Linked DNA regions of Homo sapiens: all the other regions are linked to region 1. Evidence: promoter capture Hi-C in 16 types of primary human blood cells and fetal thymus (Javierre and others, 2016). All regions are on one chromosome and are shown on one strand. Each heading gives the region's core, a stretch centred on a gene start or on the middle of the fragment in contact. The rest is flanking DNA. Distances are from core to core; before and after follow the strand shown. Region 1 holds the start of DCBLD2 (discoidin, CUB and LCCL domain containing 2). Region 2 holds the start of LNP1 (leukemia NUP98 fusion partner 1). Region 3 overlaps LOC101929298 (a long non-coding RNA gene).

Region 1 (4,106 bases), core at 1,153-3,652:
TCTGTCGCCAGGCTGGAGTGCAGTGGCGCGATCGCTGCAACCTCCGCCTCCCGGGTTCAAGCGATTCCCCTGCCTCAGCCTCCTGAGTACCTGGGACTACAGGCATGTGCCACCATGCCCGGCTAATTTTTTGTATTTTAGGAGAGACGGGGTTTCACCATGTTGGTCAGGATGGTCTCGATCTCCTGACCTCGTGATCTGCCCGCCTCAGCCTCCCAAAGTGCTCGGATTACAGGTGTGAGCCACCGCGCCCGGTAGACTGGCCTTTTCTAAAAACAAGGCAATCCCTCATTTGGAAGGTAGACATGTAACTGATTCTATACTGTTCCAAGATTTTTTTTAATAACATGATACAAACACTATCAGATCCAGAAACAAGCAAAGCAGAGTACTCTGCCTATGGAGTAATATGCCCTCCTGCATCAAGGTACCTTATATTCTTTGTGTCTCAATGTCCTTACGTTTGAACTGGGATAACAATAACTATCTCAGCTGATTGTAGTGAAGATTCAAGGAGTTAATAAACCCAAACCACTTAGTCCAGTTGTTCCAGCCACAAAGTAAGCCCTAAGTGTTAGCCATATATAAGCCTGTTTTCCCCCCTACCAGGAGGGAAATACATCTCTACAGTGGAAAGAAGGATTTCACACTTTAATATATTAAATGATGATGATGTTCAGTAATTTTAGAAGACGATCTAACTAAAACCTAAATGCTAAGCATCTAAATTTTGAGTTACTCTATATAGAAACGTGTCTAGATGTAAGGGGTCAGTTTGCCAAATACATTTTTTCCTTATAGTTACAGAGATTATATTTCCACATGCCTGTCAAGGTTCGGCATCTTCTTAATGACAGGCCATGATTCCATACTTCACTGAAAACCATGAGAGCAACATAAAGCTGGGCTTAAAGGCAGAGAACAATTTTCTTTTTAAAAAACTCTCTTCCTAGCAATAAGTAACAATCCAATCCTTATCCTTCCCACTGCAATAAAATGGAAAATGCAATGGAAATATCTTTTCAAAAACTGATGCCAAACTGATTCAAAAAGTGTGGTACACTACGGGAAAACAGTACTAAAGGGGAAAAGAAATCACCCTGCATTCTCCTTCCATTATGATAAGTATTTAATAAACAGTTTTGCCTGTTTCTGGAACAGGTTTTTCAAGGATTGTAGGTGGAAAAAAAAAAAAGTTTTGTCACTTTCTGGAAAGGCTTACCTTTTTAATGTGGAGAGCTTCACTTGGGCAAATTAGCATAGCGTTGGGTCAGACCCAGTGTTTGACCAAGGCAGTCTAGACCACCAGCCTCAATGATGGATTGTAAAGAACATGTTCTGAATCCAAGACTCAGAGATAAGCAGAAACTATTCCATTCGCTTCAGAACCCGGGCTCTTTCACAAAGGATCATAATTACCACCACTTACCTTTAATAGGCTTAAGATGCTATTTAATTAACCTGCCTTCCTACAGTGTCCATCCATCCGTGCAGCTTAACTTTAGGGGTCATTACCTCCAAAGGTTCTTTTTCCTCCCCAAAATTTTCCCCAGAAGGACCTAATATCAACGAGGCTTTCATAGCAGGGTCTCACGTCCCCCTTTCAGAAAAATAAATGGCCTTGCCAAAAAGTAAAGCCGCGCCAACTTGGGGGACAGACGGGCAAGACCTTGCCTTTGCAACTCAACCCCGTGAGTACCCAGCCAGGTCCGGCCACGCACGAAAGCGCACCGCGCCTCCCTGCAGCGTCTGCAGATTTGTTCAGGGGCCAAGAGACCCGCAGCCCCGACGGAGGTTCCCCCGCCGCTCACTCCCCTGGGACCACTCACCTTGCTGGGCTCCAGCGTCCTCGAGCAGCAGGAGCAGGACAAGTAAGAGCAGGAGGAACAGAGGCATGGAGAAGGAGGAGGAGTTGGAGCAGGGAGGGAGGGAGCGGGAGAGGGGGAGCGCGGCCCAGGCGGGGGCGGCGGCCGCGGCCCGGACTTGGGGACACTGCGGGCAGCGCCTGGCTCTCACCACCGCCCGGCTCGCCATCGCGGCGGCCGGCAGTCTGCCTGCATAGTGCGGGTGCCTCGGCAGCCCCGCGCGCCTCTGGCCGCGGCACCCGACCAGGAGACGGCGGCAGCGGCGGGAGAACAAGAGGCAGCCCTCGCCTCACCCCGCGCCGGGACCCTTCCGCCCCTCACCCCGCTTTCACCTACTCCTCCTTCGTCCCTTCCCTCCGCTCCCCGCGCCGAGACCCCAGGCCGGAGCGCAGGGGAGGGGAGGGAAGGAAGCGGAGTCCTCGAGCCGCGGAGGACGGCCGCGGCGGAGCTAAGGAACGTGCCTCCCGCGCCGCGCTCCTCACCAGGGTCGCCGCTCGCCGCGCTCACCCGCGGCTCCGGCTAGCTGGCAGGCAGGCCCGCAGCCAGCTCCCTCGCGCTCCCTCTCGCGCGCGCCGGCCACGCCCCCTAGGCACCGCGGCCAATCCTCGGCCAGCTCTGGTCCGTCTCCTTCCGCGAAACCCAATCAGCATGCTCGCTCCTCGCTCGACCCGCTAGTTCTCCGGCCCATTCCTCGAGCTCCACCGCCCCTTACCTCCCTCTTCCAATCCCCTTCGGCCTTTGGAGGCGTCCCACCCGCCTCCTCCAATCCAGGTCCCGCCCTCCAGCTTCGGATCCCCGCGGCCCCCGCCCGGCCCGGGCGCCTGTTATTGTTGGGCCCTCAGCCCAAACTGATCCCGCAGAGGCGGCAGCCAGCTCGTCAGTGACTTCCGGGACGTCCCCCATCCCGCGCTCCCTGCTCCTCAGGCCCAGCTTGCTCCTTGCTCCTTTCTCCTCGCTCCTCCGACGCACATCAGACCACTGGAAGGGGGTGGGAAACCTGGATCCTGGGTTGTTTTAGCTGGGAGCTGAGTCTAAGGGACTTTTTTTTTTTTTTTAATGGCAGAGCGTGGCTTGTTTTGTTAAAACTGCCGCCAGTTGTTGCAACAGCTCCGAGTTAGAATAATAGATGCAGTGTTCAGTTTTTAATATATGTGTTCCCTGTTTTCTCTGCTCTTTTTATGGCGGGGGGTGGGGGACAAAAAAGTGTAAAACAAGATCCGTGCCGCAAAGGCAATTTAAACCTAACATCCCAACCTTCATGCAGCCATTCTACAAGGAGTTGTTGAGCACCTGCTGTCTATCTACAGAAATCTTGAAATGTGGAACAGAGATGGAAATATAGCATGCAAGTCAGAATGAAGTAAGTGCTAATTAGAGTCACAAGCAGTTTGATGGAGACTGTAAGCCTATGGAACGACAAAAAGAATTTTAGGAAAGAGGAATGCAGAGGTCTACGCAGTGATTTATTTTAGAAGAGAGTGGCCATGTAGGATGTTTTTAACAGCAGTCCCTGAAAGGACAATGGTGTCATTAGCAAATACAAAAAACTGCTAAGGTGGAACAAGTTGTGTGGGAAAGTAAGTTAATTTTGGACGTATTGAATTTGAGATGCCAACTTAGATAATAAGTGAAGCTATGTAACAGGCAGATGGATATTTTAGTCGAAAGCTCAGATTGAGAGCTTTGAAATTATGGCTCTGGGAGTCATACATAGCCATACATGTATACATATACATATGTATACATAGTCATACATAGATGTGATATTCAAAAACATGGAAGGGACTGATATCCTTCAATGAAAGTCTAAGTTGGAAAGGACTTTGGAGGTCGTATGTTTCAACTCCCCTGCATATTTCTTATACAATAATCTCTTTAACCAAATTTATTCAATTAACATTTATTAAATGCCTAAGAAACCCTATTATGCTCTAAGCCATTGTGGGCATTGGGCATAAAAAGTTTACTGAGAAGAACTTACATTCTGGAGGAGGAGGTGACATGTAAACAAACCTATTGTTATTAGTGCCCTGTTAGAGGTGTGGACTGGTGCCACAATACCACAGTGAACGGAGTTCAAAAAAACCCGTCAGTTTGAAATGCCAGTGTCTTGAATAAGAAACTAAAGTGAAAAAGGTGATCTCAGGCCAGAGGCAAAATAGGCTGGGTCACAGGCTCAATAGGGAATGGTGTTGATGGAGCTGGATTGACTACTGCTGACGTAATGGGAGGAACTGGAGA
Region 2 (4,106 bases), core at 1,196-3,695, 1.5 Mb after region 1:
CAACACAGTGAAACCCCGTCTCTACTAAAAATACAAAAATTAGCGGGGCATGGTGGCGCGCGCCTGTAGTCCCAGCTATTCCGGAGGCTGAGGCAGAACTGCTTGAACCCAGGAGGCGGAGGTGGTGGTGAGCTGAGATCGCACCACTGCACTCCAGCCTGGGCAACAAAGTGAGACTCCATCTCAAAAAAAAAAAAAAAATTCAACCTGAATAGTATAATATGGAAATGACTTGCATACATATTTAAGTGTATACACTTGGATACAATTAGAAGTTACTTGACCAACTGTATATACTTATGTATAAAACTGGGAGATATTTGACCAAACGTTTCTCTGACCTCGACTTACTCTGGTACTACCATTGAACAACTCCAGACCCAGAGAAAATCCACCACACCCAATCCCAGTATTGTCAAATGCAGCCAGACTAATTCTCTGCACAGCTGTCAGATACCAAAAGGATTTAACAGTCAGTTCACCAAAACCATACAAAGCAGTTCACTAAATAATCCAATGCTTGGCCTCACATCAGAGAAACTGTATCATGCATATTAGGCTTGGTCATGTACATTTCCAGGTGAAATGGAAAAACTGAATTTAAGATGCTTCCAATCAAAAAGTTTAAGAAGTCACTCCCATTTTTTTTTTTTTTTTTTTTGTATGTGTGTGTAGGCCTGGACCTGGGGCAGGGGGCTGTGTGCAACCAAGCCTGGTGAGCATTGCTGTGGCCGCTACTCTTGTGCAGCAAGAGGGGACAGTGCAGTGCAGAGCGTTTTCTGACAAAGGCCAAGGGGTCCGGAGTGCAAAAGGACACCTTGGGGCTGGGGCATGGCAGGAGAGGTTACGGGCGCTGAGTGCTTGCAGCCAAGGGGGCTTCGGGGTTGCTGAGAGAGGACGAGCCTTGGGAGCTTGACAGTTCTGCTTACAGTTCAGAGGCTGTAAAACAAATGCCACTGAACACCATTTCACTCTTTAGAACCTGTGTAGTCTTTCTTTTTCTATGTAGAAAGCCATCTAATCGTTTTTGTTTTTGTTTTGCTTTTGTCAACTAACCGTCACTGTAGTTGCCCACTTACCCCCAGCAAAAACACACTCCAAAAGGGGGAGTGGCTCATTATTAAAAGGCTCTTAGCGATTAGGTTGTAGGCTTTGGAAATCACAGAAACAGTTCGTATCACGATGTACCAATTGTTAATCGAATTTAGCTTCCTTCACTTATTAAATACAATCATCACATTTGCAAATGCCCCACTCCCATCTACAACACTAGGGATAAATGCTGTGTCACTGAGAAGAAAAGCAAAGGATTTTTCTGAAACCAAAAGCAAACTGTCAAAGAATGCCAGTAACCTGTCATCGAGCTACTCTATGCCCTCCACTGGCAGCCAGAAATGAGTCTCCCTAAACCCAAGTGTTGTGCTGCCGCTTGGCAGCTTCCGTCTGATGGGAAGCCCCCTCACTGACACAACCCGCCAAGGAAAAGCTGCACGAGCCAGTTTCCTCCTCTACGGCCTGGGGCTGCTTCTCACCATGTCCAAGTGAGCACCGGGACCTTCAGGGTGTCCGCTGCCCGGGGCCGGACTGGCCCTGCCCTCCGGGGTCTTCCGTTCGCTGTTGCGCTTCAGGCCGCTGGCGTCGCCCCGGCCTCTGGCCTCCCGGCGCCGTTGCTGCCGACTCCACAGGTATATGGCACCCGCGCCCAGCAGCAGGGGTGCCCCGACCGCCAGAGCCAGCTGCCATCGCGGCAGCCCCCCCGTGCCCGGGCCCGCAGTCCCGCCGCCGCCCACCCCACTCCCGGAGCTCGGTACAGCGGCTGCGACCACCGCTGCCTCCACAGGTTTAGAGGCGGCCATGACAAGTGTCCTCTGCCACCGCCTCCCTGTCTGTCGCGAGCGCCACAATCACCAAACAGCGTGCGAAGGAAGACCGAGGGAGGGAAGGAAAGCAATGAGCGAGCGAGCACGCTAGGCAGAGAGAGCGGACGACAGAAAAGGGCCAGAGGTCACCGGAAGCCCAGGGCATGCCGGGCCAGACCTGGCCGTCCTTCTCCTCCAGTATCAACCGAAGAGGGAGAGGAGGGGCGGAAATCACTTCCGGGTTAAGGGAAAGCGTGGGTGTGAGTAGGAGTCTTCGGAAACCCTTTTTCTTTCTTTTCGCCCCGCTGCTGTTCGGGAGATGGACTTCTGGAGTCCCCGTCGTAGCTGGTGTTGTCCCCTCTACCTTCAGGAAAGAAGGGCAGATGGCCCTCTTGCCTACTGAAGCCGAGGAGGGGCGCGTATACAGCGGGCTAAGGGCGCTCAAGAGATCCGAGTGGAAGAAAAAGCAGCGGCACAGCACTGGAATGGGCGGGAGTGGCAGAAGAGTTGTGAAGGCTATTGGCTAGCAAGGGTGGTGGGCGGGGCGTAGACCGAGCTACCCAGTTTACTGGTCGATTTCGGATCCAGTTTTCCAGTTATAGCCACGTTGGCACCTCTTGAACCTCTGTGGCCGTTAGCACGGTTTTCTGCCCGCGTGCCCGAGAAACCAACGGATTAGAAGGACTTTTAAAGATGTGTGAGGAAAGAGCTCACCGCTGAAGAAGGCTGCTGCATCACTGAACTTCTTATCACTAACATAGCGAGATTTTAGTTTGGACGAATTTGAGGTTATAGGGGAGATAGCGATGGCAGAAGACTAGGTGGAAATGGCACATCTAGGTTGGCTGCAGTCGAAACGGTTTGAGCGTGGTCGCTGTGGCTCATCGTCGGCACCAATTAACGAAGCGATGACATCTGCGTTGTTAGGGGTTTCTTAAACTGAGTTGGTAGAAATGCGAAGCGTCAGGGTTCCCGCCGGCTTCGAGCCTTTCTTGGCGTATTTGTATCTTGAGCTGATTTCTGCGTCAGCCCACATCTCGCTCTGATCCGCACGCCCCCCGGGTTGTTTTGCAGTAGCAGTCTCAGCCCTCTTCTCGTCTCATTCCCAAATCGTAATTTCAGTTCACAGCTTTTTATCTATAATAGCTTTATCAACTCTTTTTCCGATGCTCTGCACCAGATCTCTTAAAATATAAAATTACCTTGCAAGGTATTGTTTGGAATACACGGTATTTTCATGAAGACAACTATTAATAGAAAAATCAGAGTCCAGAACTATGGTTCTCCATTTCTGGTATACTGGTTTGCAGAAGCCTTACATTAAGATTTCATAAATGATTGTTTTGCTGTTAAGTGCAACAACATCACAGTAGAGCTACATAAAGATTGAAAGGAGATATTTTATCAAGTGGCACCAGAATGGACTGATTAAAATAGAATGGCCTAATTGGAAAGAATTTCAGGATCACCGGTTTCTCCTGCTTCATGTAAGTTCCTATTAGTAAATTGCCTTCAGGCAATAGGGTTTCTTAGCAACAGACTAAAAAAATGGGCTAAAAATAGCAGTGGAATTGAGTTGATCGTTGCAGGCAATAGGCTTTTCTCCCCTCCTGATCCCCCAATCCCCAAAGGCAAATTTTCTGCCCCTTAATATAAGCTCTGCCTTGCCTTTTTCAGAACACAAGTTAGGATTTTTTTTTTTTTCTGAAATTTCAGTTTTGCTGTGGCCTCTTGGAGGATTGTAGAGTGCTAACAATTACAAACTTGATAGGAACTAAAACATATTTGAAGTTTTTTTTTTAAACCTTTTTCTTATTTATTGGAGTAAGCAATACACTGTTACGGTTAAACTCCAAAAGTTACAGAGTTTACTGTGAAAAGTCTTCCTTCAGTCCCTGTCCTCAGCTGCACAGTTCCCCTCTCCAAAGGGAATCGGTGTTATTTTCTTGAAACATTTTTTGGATTAATATTTATCTAAAGGCCTGATTTTGTTTGGCTTTATTTTTAAGGTTGGCATTAGTAAACGAATCTGTTCTGGTTACTTTTATACTTTGATAAACATCTCATTTCCATTCTCTAGCCTATGCTATTCTCTCATTTTCTCCTCCATTTCCTAATTGATGGTACTGTAGAGCCAAATAGAGTGTCGCTTACTGGCTTTGGGACCTTACTGATCTGATGCATGTTTTTCTAATCTGTGAAATGGTGAAAACATCTACCTCTCAGGCTATAGTAAAGATTTAATTA
Region 3 (4,106 bases), core at 631-3,130, 1.1 Mb before region 1:
ATCAAAGTGAATAGATTTCTATTTTATTCTATGCAAAGAAAATTCATGTACAGGAAATTACGTTAATCTCAATTTTAGATTAGGTAAAGTTCCCATGTGAAAACTGGTTCATTTTATATGACAGCATGTAGCATTTCCAGCTGCTTTCTCTCCCTAATCAAAACATTTGCTCACAAAAGCAGCTGCCACTATGCCTTGTTTTTAAACCATTTGCAAGAAATCAAACTGAGAACAAAGTACCCATAGTAAGAAAGCTCTAGCTTCTGGGACATGTATACTATAAAACGTCACAATAAGATAAAAAGGAAACCAGTTCACAGCCACTTTTTCTGTTTTGTTTGTTTTGCTCCAAAGCTTTGTTTCATAAAGCCCTAAGAAACAAAACTTACAACTAACAGTAATATAATGCAGTCTAGAAATTTATAAATAATCATTCTTTATGGAATACTTTTAAAATTGTATATCAGAAGTGCATATTACAGTGCAGAGTTTATGAAGTCAGATGAAATATTTTGGGAAAACAATATAGAGGATGAATTTCTCATCTAATAGTAAATTATTATTCTGAGCCATTATCTACGTCATGCTTATGAAGCTCCATTAATAAAACTTAATATCTTACATATGACCTTATATTTTAGATAGCATTTGACTTAGATAAAAGACACATCACACTGAATTGGTGTGAACAACTATTTTGGAACACATGTTATAATCAGTGTTTGTCAAAGACATGCTACCCCTATTTATACATTTTTAAAAGTACGTTTCAATATTAGCAAATTTTGTGCTGTTTGAAAGCTATATATTTAATTTTTAATGTTAATGTTATATTTTTGTAAAGGACTAATTTCTCTTTGAAGTATCATCATATCAAAGGGAGAAAAGTGTAAATGTAGTTTAGGTCAGACTAACACATTTTACTTAATTTAAGCATTAAAAGATGTGTGTTCGAAAGATCTCAATCTCCACATGTTCCGCAAACAAAAACCAGACAAACAATACAATAAAACATCATGCATCTCATAGAAGTTGGAATAACCAATTACTTAAAAATTTTACCATCTGTTCTCATTGAAGCAGCAAGACAGGCATTTCCCCATGTTACAAACCATGATAATTAGAAAGTAACAATGAGAAATGCTAACATCATTTTTCCCCTTTTTTATTTGCTGTGGGAGTTCTTAATGAAAATTTGAGCATATAAACAAAGGAAAAGAGAAGATATTCCCCCCACCCCACCTCCTAATTGAGTGCTTATATTCAGTAATAGCTTTTTGCTGCCCTGGGCCGCATGACACTGCCTCATTTGGCCACGCACAGCTATTATTCTAGGAGGCAGCTAGTGAAGTGCCCCAATCCATCTGCTTGCTTTTTCATGGGCTGGTGCTTTCCTTGATGTTGACAGCTGTCTTAATATTCCTGGGCCACCTGCCACACAGTAAATACTGTGCTCTAAGATATATACAGAAGCTTATTCCCTGGTGGACTTTTCAGAACAAAAACGCTTAGCATTACTAAACTACTCTTGCAGTTTAAATGCTTCAAGGATCAACACTTTCATTCTATTCTCATACCTTTGAGAATGGTACTTACGTTGTGGGAATGGCAATTCAGTTACAGTGTGATGAACTTCAGGATTTCTCATATATCACACAAGTTATTGAATTACAGTATTATAGGTGGAAATCAGGTGCTAAAAGGAGGCAGAGAAGAAGAGAGCATATTAACAGTTATCTCCTCTAGTGAGCCTTCCAGGAACCCTTCAGATTAAGTTGGGGATCCGTCCTATGTTTCCCATCTTACCCCATTTGCTCATCTTGCCCAATTAAACTTGCTCCTTGATGTTAAGCATTTGGTCTTATCTATCACCGTATCTCTATGTCTAAGAATGAGCATGTATCTGACACATAGTATGCACTAGAGGACATATCCAGGTTTTGTGGGATCTGAAGTTTTTACAATTTGGAGGGTCCTCTTTAAAGAAAAAGGATTTAAAAGAAAATTAGATATAAAAATGAATATATTGAATGAAAACATAAACCATGCAAATTACTAATTTTAAAAGGTTGACTAGAAAAACAATTTGTTTTCTTACTAAATGCCTTGCACAATCACTTTTTTTCCTATATTTTTGGCAGTGTACTCTTCAATAGCCTTTCATATGACAATAATTTAGTAATATTATTTTCCATAATAATGAAAAGATAATGCAATCTTTCCTCTAGTTCTGTTTTTCTTATTGATAGAAAGGCTGTGTAAACATGCAGTACTACACACACACACACAAAGCTTGTGGTACTGCTACAGGTTTGTACCCTACAAACAAGAATTCTGATAAATTCTATTTTACATGGTTTACATCAACAAGAAAAAATGTTTTGTGTTTACAGTTATAAAAATTATTTTGGGTGGCTGAGACGGGTGGATTACCTGAGGTCAGGAGTTCGAGACCAGCCTGACCAATATGGTCAAACCCCGTCTCTACTGAAAATACAAAAATTAGCTGGGCATGGTGGTGGGCGCCTGTAGTCCCAGCCACTCTGGAGGCTGAGACAGGAGAATTGCTTGAACCCAGGAGGCGGAGGTTTCAGTGAGTTGAAATTGCACCACTGCACCCCAGCCAAGGTGACAGCGCCAGACTCTGTCTCAAAAAAAAAATTAAATATACTGCATTATTGAATATATTATTGCTATGAGAGAAATTACATCAATCGGAGGCAATCCTTCCTGTTGAAACTTTGTCTTCTGATGCCTGGAATAATTTTCCACATGACACCTGATGCTGCTTTACCTTTCAAATCTTGTCTCACCTCTATTACCCACATATTTTCAGTGTCAGAGACCACAGAATATATCTCCTCTGGCTCTGCATCTTGGGTGTAATACTTGGTGAGCTGCGCTACAAACAAATTGGAATTTAAGAAATAACTATACTTTGGAGAGGCTGGAAACCACATAAATATATTCCACTAAGTCCAAACTAAATATATTCCCAACTGAAATTCCCTAGCAGATTCCCAAATGCTCTTGATAACTCTAAGTGGAAAAGAAAATCTAAGTGGACATCTAAGTGGAAAAAAAAAGAGATTGTGGTCTTAATCACATTAAAACATTTACTTTTGTAAATTTGATAAAACTGGCCATGGATCCCATTGCTGAGTTCACACTGGAAGAGACTGTGCCAGCAGGGAGCCAAGAAACTTGAGCCTCATCGGCTTCACTGTAGATGTGCTTCTACTGCAGGCACTCACTAAACGTCGGGGAATAACTGGATCAGTGAATTAATGACACTGTGCTAAATTAGTATCTCTAAGATCCTTACAGCTCTAAAATTTGACATTTTTACAGGCTTCCTAATGCAATCTTAGAATTTAGTATTTAGAAATTTGTTCATATGAGTTCAGGTTATAACAATGTAGGACATATAGAAAACTAATAAGTGCTCAGAAAGCAAATGAAGGAAAATTCAATGGTCATTGTTTTATGACTTTAAGCTATTTTGTCATAGACGCAATTTGTCTTAGTGTAAACATGGCATTATTTGTATTTACCATTCACTTAAGTGCTTTGCTGTGCTACCGAGTGGAGATCAGAGTATTGTTAGATATATTATTAGTTAAAACCATAATTCATTAATTAAATCCTATTGACTCCCCCCCATTTTTATTCCAAGAAAAACTTCCTGAACGAAGTACCCTCTGGGTAGGCACTGGGGCCTGGTTTGATCACAGAACAAGTCAGGGACAAATGTGATAGTCATTCAATAATACGTTGGGAAGACAAATTATCATTTGGGCCTTTTAGCTGGAAGAAACAGTTTGCTTTATTACTCTCTTTGGGCTTTTTGGTAAGTGGGTCTTCAGTGGAGATTCTCTTATAAAATAATAAAGCTAGAATTGGGAACTTGTCTTATTCTAGTCTATTATCTTAGTCTTTTTCTATTTTCTCAGACTAGGCTCACAGAGAAATAGGAAAAATTTACCAAAGAGTAAAAAAGGATTAATCTTGAGGGATAGACTGAGATGAACCCGATTGATGGAAATCGGGCTGACTGAACTTTAATGGGTTAAATCCTGCCAGAACAAATGAGAATGAGTGTCTTG

Evidence for each region. Contacts are between HindIII fragments. The CHiCAGO score rates a contact against its expected background, and 5 or more counts as called.
Region 2: the fragment with the promoter of LNP1 here is called in contact with the fragment with the promoter of DCBLD2 in region 1 in 1 of 17 cell types (total B cells); the score reaches 5.2 in total B cells.
Region 3: a contact is called between a fragment that was not itself captured here and the fragment with the promoter of DCBLD2 in region 1, in 1 of 17 cell types (monocytes). The highest score is 5.7, in monocytes.

The regions. Positions count from the first base shown.
Region 1 is chr3:98,899,293-98,903,398 of GRCh38, forward strand. DCBLD2 (discoidin, CUB and LCCL domain containing 2) reads right to left here and starts at 2,403. Exons shown (of 16, transcript NM_080927.4): 1 at 1,830-2,403. The coding sequence starts at 2,034. It overlaps LOC105374002 (a long non-coding RNA gene), which reads left to right and starts at 2,722. Exons shown (of 2, transcript NR_189121.1): 1 at 2,722-3,225. RefSeq lists enhancers at 1,302-2,018, 2,019-2,734 and silencers at 1,842-2,531, 2,672-2,721. The HindIII fragment of the contact is 5,361 bases long and covers 1-4,106 here.
Region 2 is chr3:100,399,094-100,403,199 of GRCh38, forward strand. LNP1 (leukemia NUP98 fusion partner 1) reads left to right here and starts at 2,446. Exons shown (of 4, transcript NM_001085451.2): 1 at 2,446-3,346. It overlaps TOMM70 (translocase of outer mitochondrial membrane 70), which reads right to left and starts at 1,996. Exons shown (of 12, transcript NM_014820.5): 1 at 1,533-1,996. The coding sequence starts at 1,856. RefSeq lists enhancers at 414-1,333, 2,015-2,124, 2,175-2,224, 2,235-2,324 and silencers at 1,695-1,774, 2,385-2,464. The HindIII fragment of the contact is 4,606 bases long and covers 1-4,106 here.
Region 3 is chr3:97,816,808-97,820,913 of GRCh38, forward strand. LOC101929298 (a long non-coding RNA gene) reads right to left here. Exons shown (of 3, transcript XR_427389.3): 2 at 1,597-1,696. Among named protein-coding and RNA genes, the nearest start is that of CRYBG3, 3.2 kb to the right of the region's middle. The HindIII fragment of the contact is 819 bases long and covers 1,472-2,290 here.